2 separate regions of the Homo sapiens genome follow, and region 1 is linked to region 2. Evidence: promoter capture Hi-C in human tissues and cell types (Jung and others, 2019). All regions are on one chromosome and are shown on one strand. Each heading gives the region's core, a stretch centred on a gene start or on the middle of the fragment in contact. The rest is flanking DNA. Distances are from core to core; before and after follow the strand shown. Region 1 overlaps BANP (BTG3 associated nuclear protein). Region 2 holds the start of SLC22A31 (solute carrier family 22 member 31).

What was found. Contacts are between HindIII fragments. The study calls those that stand out against the background at their distance.
Region 1: a contact is called between a fragment that was not itself captured here and the fragment with the promoter of SLC22A31 in region 2, in 1 of the 25 tissues and cell types used here (dorsolateral prefrontal cortex).

Annotation. Positions count from the first base shown.
Region 1 is chr16:87,963,721-87,966,880 of GRCh38, forward strand. All of the region lies in intron 1 of BANP (BTG3 associated nuclear protein), which reads left to right. Among named protein-coding and RNA genes, the nearest start is that of BANP, 14 kb to the left of the region's middle. The HindIII fragment of the contact is 6,313 bases long and covers 1-3,160 here.
Region 2 is chr16:89,198,977-89,201,789 of GRCh38, forward strand. It overlaps SLC22A31 (solute carrier family 22 member 31), which reads right to left and starts at 1,561. Exons shown (of 9, transcript NM_001384763.1): 1 at 1,502-1,561; 2 at 737-840; 3 at 437-591; 4 at 47-215. The coding sequence starts at 1,525. RefSeq lists enhancers at 1-464, 1,713-2,335 and a silencer at 2,628-2,717. The HindIII fragment of the contact is 13,129 bases long and covers 1-2,813 here.

The sequences.
Region 1 (3,160 bases), core at 356-2,855, 1.2 Mb before region 2:
ACAGAGAAGATCCTGGTGTTGAAGGAAGCCCTAGTGTTAAATACAGGAAGCCTGGCTTGACTTTTCTTGCTGCTGTTTTTCATGTGATGCTGATAATCTATAGCAGTTTGTTTTTTAACTTTGACTGTTAAAGCCAAGTTTTCTGCCCAGTTACAGTGGGTTTCCTTTTAGTCCTCTTTTAATGGCTTTGTGGTTTTGTTTTATGGGTGTCCAATATTTTTGAAATAGTAATAGCAAAATTAAATACTTTTGCAGCTGTCCGTTTCTCCTGATGACCAGCTACCGTTAGCCTTTGCTGACAGTGGATGGGCACTGTTCATCAGATGTGTCAATCACCCTGATTCCACATTCATGAACTGAGTAGTTAGATTAGTAACTTAATTATAGCACAGTCCTTATTGAAATCAGGACATGGGCACAACACACTTTGAAAACCTTAATCCATGGTTTTTAAATAGCATTTCTGACATTCATCATTGTGCATTGGGGAATGACGTCAGTGGTGTGTTCTCACTGGACTCATCACAGACGTATTCACTGGATGCGGTGCGGGCCAGGCCCGGTGCCCTGCTGAGAACACAGCCATGCCAATTCCTGCCCTTGTGAAGCTCACCTTCTAGCAGGAGACACTAAGCAAGAGAAACCTTTCAGATGTGTAGTAAGTCAGACAGTAGAGCAGGAAAGGCTGCTGTGCACGTCACCGTTGCCGAGGCGTCCAGGAGGCGTGCAGGAGGCGTGCAGGGGTGGCCAGCTCCGTGGTAGGACCCTGAGCTGAGTGTATCCCTGAGAAGCATGGGGAGGCCCAAATGCAGGGGCCGAGTGAGCGTGGCGGGGAGGAGAGCCCCAGGGGCTGCAGAGGGCCCGTGAGATGGGAAGCCCTCGGAGGGCTTAGAGCAGATGAGGGGCATAGCCTGGCACGTGTTTTTATGTGACGCCTTGAGCGCTCTTTATCGTGATCACAGCAGAGGTGCAGGTGACAGTGAGACGGCCGTATGTGAGCAGGTCTGAGGGGCGGCCTGGGTCCAGGTTGGGAGTGACAGGCTGGGAAGACGAGGCCGGATCAGGGTGAAGGAGAGGAGAACCCAGGAGGCCTGAGGTTTTGGCCTGAGCATCTGGGAAGTAGGTGTTGCCTTAAATTGAGGTGGAAAGTGTGGAAGAAGCAGGTTGGTTTGGGGTGGGTGACAGGGGCTCAGTTTGGACATGTTAGAATTGAGACGACCCCTTAGGGGAGACACCTAGTAGGTGGTGTGGTGTGAGGCCTGGAGTTCATGTGCGAGGTCTGAGCTGGCAGGGTGATAGGCGCCATTGGCGTGGAGATGTATCTGAAGCCACAGACTGATGAGCCGCTGGGTCAGTGCTGGCTGAGCAAAGGTTCCAGGGCCGTGCCCTGGGCATGCATCCTCAAGTCAGGAAGTGGATGTGGGACCAGCAGAGAGACAGAGGAGTGGGGGCCAGGCAGGGAGGACAGCGTGGGGAGGAGCCGGAATGAGCCCCATCAGGCCCTGTGGTGGGGAGAATGGGGGCAGCATCTGGGCTGGAGCAGTTTTGGGGGAGTAACTGAGTGACAGCCCGATGGGTGGGATCTGGAGGGGATGTGAGCACTGAAAATGGAGACCGCAAGTACAGGCGGGGCTTCTGAGGAATTTTATCTGAAAGGGAACAGAGAAATGGGGCTGGGGCTGGAGGGGCAGGAGGGAGGGCAGCACCGTGGGGGAAGGGTGTGCAAGGGTGATGCTGAGGGACCAGGGAGGGGTGCTGACTGGGTGTGGGGCACATGCCCGAGGAGGCAGGAGTGGGCATTCTTGGGAAGTGAGAGGGAGGAGAGCAGGATCACCCACTAAGCCCGAGGCGCAGAGGGTCCAGGAGTAGGGGAGCGTTCGCATGGCTGGGCGGGGCTGGGCGGGGCTGGGCGGGGCTTGCAGCATCAGGCGCACCTGAGGTTGATTGGATGTGGATTCTCTCCCCATCCCTGCCCGAATGTGTGGGTCCCCATGCCTTGGTGGCTGAGAAGTGGATTTAAGGCCAGGTTAAAGATGGTTCTGTAAAGTTTATCAAGATTTGATGTAGTTGGCCTTGCCTGTAGACACATCACTTGGTTGTAGAAACAGTTTCACAGGTAATAAATAAGTAAGGCCTACGGAATAAGGCCTATGGAAAGCTCAGCAGTCCAGGAGGGCGGAGTGGACAGGAGAGTGGGGCTCGTGCAGTTGGAGCGTCCCTGCTCTGGGTAGCCTGAGGTTTGCTATTTGTCATCCCCAACTGTCTTGGATGTGTTGGCACACCTGGACAGATGACCACACGTGGACACCATGTTTAGGAAGCAGAATTGGGATCATATCATCCGCACCGCTGTGCAGCTTTCCATTTGTATGCCTTCCTTTTGCTATCATATTCTGGAGATCTTTCCATTTTGGTTCATGTAATTAAATCAGTCTCATCCATGTGAATGACTTGGTGGTGTCTGGCAATCTGGATGGGCGTGGATTCTTCACCACTCCTGTTCTGCTGTACATTCAGGGTGTTACTCTGGGCTGTAGGCCCTGCTTTCCCATATGCGCCCTGAGCCCTGCATCTCTTGGTGGACTTGGTAGGGTTCTGAATAGTCGTCAGAGTAAGAGGCTTGCTTGAGCATTAGTCTCAGTCCAGCTGTTTTATTGTATTAAGACTGGACTATCCCCAGGACTTCTGAGAAATGGCAAATTTAATTTGCCAAAATAGCAACCACAGGCATTGCTGTGTTCCAGTTTTCTTGGGCTTGTTGCCCTAGTTTTTTCTATTGAAATCTTTACTGTTAGCAGAATTTTAAATGACTCTTGATCCTGGCAACAGAGGCATTTTGAGTAAACAACTCGAATAATGTGTGGTGTCCTCATTTGGAAGAGGTTAGGATTCAGGATTTTATGGTGAGTTCAGAGCATTTTCTGAAGCCACTTGCAGAGCTTTTAGAAACTAGCAAAAAGCTTGAATTGGGCATTTAAAACTATTTCCACTGGCCCCTTAAGAGAGGCAGGAGTTTAACCTGGACTCTCTGGACCCGGGGCTGTTTGTGGAAGGGCCTCGGCATGTCCTTGGGTTTAGTCTGGCTGCACGTGGTGGGCTCCAGAATACCCTGTTTTGAACCAGGTAGTTGTTTATTTTCCTTTGCTTTGAGGAAGTCTGA
Region 2 (2,813 bases), core at 311-2,810:
AGTCAGCCCCGATGAGGGCTGCTGGCCCAGCTCCCACCACACTTACCCCCAAAAGAGCAGCAAGAGTCCACTCATCAGGGCACCCAGCCCCTGCAGAAGACGCCAGTCCTGCACAAGCGCAGCCAGGCCGGGCAGCAGCAGGGTGCCCACCACCGAGAAAAGGCCAGCCCCCATGGAGAAGGCCAGGCGGTGGGGAGGGTCACACAACTCCAGGCCTGGGCAGACACAGACAGGTTGAAGTGGAGGCCTCGGGGAGGACTGGAACAGTTCCATTGGGAACTGCGGGGACCTATTGGTGACCTGCCCAGGAGCGGGATGCCCAAGGGACTCACTGCTCACTGTCCCTGCAGCTCGGGGCCCTCGGCAAGGGAGCCTCAGAGGCCTGCGGGCCACCCACTGCCCCTCCCCCAGTGACAGCAGCCCCCAGGGTACTCACGAGCCAGATACAGGGCGAGGAGGGCCCCTGCCAATGTGCCCCCGTGGAGTAGGCGCAGGACCAGCAGGGTAGGGAAGCTGGCAGCCAGGGCCTCACTGGCCCCCAGGCCTGTGGTCAGCACCAGGGAGGCCACAAAAACTGCCCGGCGTCCAAACCTGGTGGGCAGCGGGGGACATGCTTGGACAGGGTCAGGATAACCCAGGGTCCAACCTTCATCCTGGCAGCACCAGGTCTAGCTGAACCCTGAGAGTGGGCGGAGGGGAGGGCTGCTGGGCAGCAGGAAAAGGGAAGGGGCCTCACCGGTCACAGCCTGCTCCCAGGATGACACAGCCCAGCAGCCAGCCCAGGAGGTGGCTCACCTGCTCCAGCGGGACCTTCCAGCCGTCTCCACACACAAGGTTCCACTATGGGGAACAGCAGCCACGTGGAGGCCAGCTCAGGACCCTCCCCTGGGGACAGGTGCAGGGAGTCCCAGAATGGCTACTGGAAGGGGCCCTCCATGTCCTGCTCAATCCCTCCGTGGAGAGAAGGGGAAACTGAGGCATGAGAGGGCAAGGGGCTTGGTCCAGGTCACACAGCAGCCTCTCTGGTCTCCGGCAGCCCCTGCACAGGGGTCGGGGGGATCTGCCCACCCTAAGTTTTCTGCTTGTCCCTAGATAGGGCCTCCCCCACCTCCGCACACCATTGCTCTTCCCCCACGGCCAGCTCTTGTCCGACCCGTTTCCACCTCCTATTCCGAGGGACCCCGGGGACACCCAGGGCCTTGGTGGCGTCATAGACACAGCCCCCACCCCAGCCGGCCAAGGGTCATAGCCATGACACAGGCCTAAGAAATGAACCCCAGCACCTGCGCTGGTACCCACGCCCTCCCTGCCCTGCCCATTTCAAGAGGGACTCGGGCAGCGGCTGGAGAGCTGTGCTCAGCGGCATTTCCCGGTGAGGCCCTTGACCCTTGACCTCAGCTCTGCGCCTCCCCCCACCCCTTCCGGTTCCTGGGTCTTCTTGGCAAGCTTAATCTACTGCTGGGGGCCGTGCTATGCCCGAGATTTTACTTTCAAACCTGACGTTTTGGGAAAGCTGATGGGGCATTCCTGGATCCAGGCACCAAACAGGAGGAGGGCAGGTGGGAGGTGGGAGGGAGCAGGGTGGAGAGAGAAGCCCGGCGGGTTCCAGGGCCCCAGGCAGCCCTTGTGAAGATGTGGCAACCCCGTTCCAGTTTCCACACTGGGGCCAGTCCTCCCAGGATGGGGGATGGGGGCCTCGGGGTAAAGGCTGCCTCAGGGGTGTGCAGGTCTCAGCCCCAGCGCGGAAAGGCATGAAAGGGGCCTGGAGGTCCCTGCCGCCCGCCTCCCCATCTCTTCTCACGCAGATCGTCAAGGTTTCCCTTCAGGCAATGCAGTCTCTAGCCCAGCCTCTGCGCACCTCACTGATGGGAAGCCCACCTTCCCCAGTCTGTGCTGACCACGTCAGTCCCTCCAAGCAGAGACTCTGCCTTGGAAAGCCAGCCCAAAGCCACGGTCTGCTGAAGACGCTGGTGGTCCTGAAGCAAATTCCAGGCCCTGCTCCCCCACCGGCGCCTTCGGCTCCAATCCTCCAGCGCCCCAGGCCGCCCCGCGCCTGGCAGCTCCCAGGCCCAGATTCAGCCCCCGCCCGGCCCCTCTCCGCGGGTCCGGCCCGTGCGCGCCCGTCTGCGGCACCGTCGGGCCGGCGGCCGCCCCGGAGCAGGAAGCCCAGGAGGACGGCCGGGGGGCCCGGGTCAGAGGCGCCAGGTAGGATGGAGAAAGGACACCCAGGGCCTCGGCGGGCTGGGGGCGGGGAGGGCTGCGGGGCAGCAGGGACGGGGGCGCACCTGGGTGACCGGGCTTTGCAGGAGGCCGGCGCCGGGCAGCGCGTAGAGCCAGCCGCGTGTGCAGGGCCGGGTGCCGTTGCGTGCGGGCGCGGGGCGCGGGCCCGGGGCGGGTGCAGGGCGCGGGATCGGGGTAGCGCAGGAGCAGGCAGGGGCTCGCGGCTCGCGTGGGCCCCAGGCGCGGGATGGCGGCGTCCAGCAGCGCGGGTCCGCGCAGGGCGCGCAGCGCTGGGGGCAACAGCGTGGGGTCCGGTCGGCAGTGGGGCGCGGGCTGCGCGGTAAGCAGCTCCTCGGAGCTCAGCACCAGCCCCAGCACTATGCAGGGTACCCACGAGGCGGAGGCCAGCAGGCGCCGGGCCCGGCCAAAGCCGCCCGCAGCTCTCAGCACCCGCGCCTCCTGCTCCATCGGTCGCAGGCTGCGCTCGGGACGGGGCGGGGCCTGGACCAGGGCGGGCTCCTGGGGCGGGGCTTTGGGGCGAGGCATTAAGGGGCGGAGCCTGAGTCCAGTGGAGGCGGGGTGTGGGGGCGGGC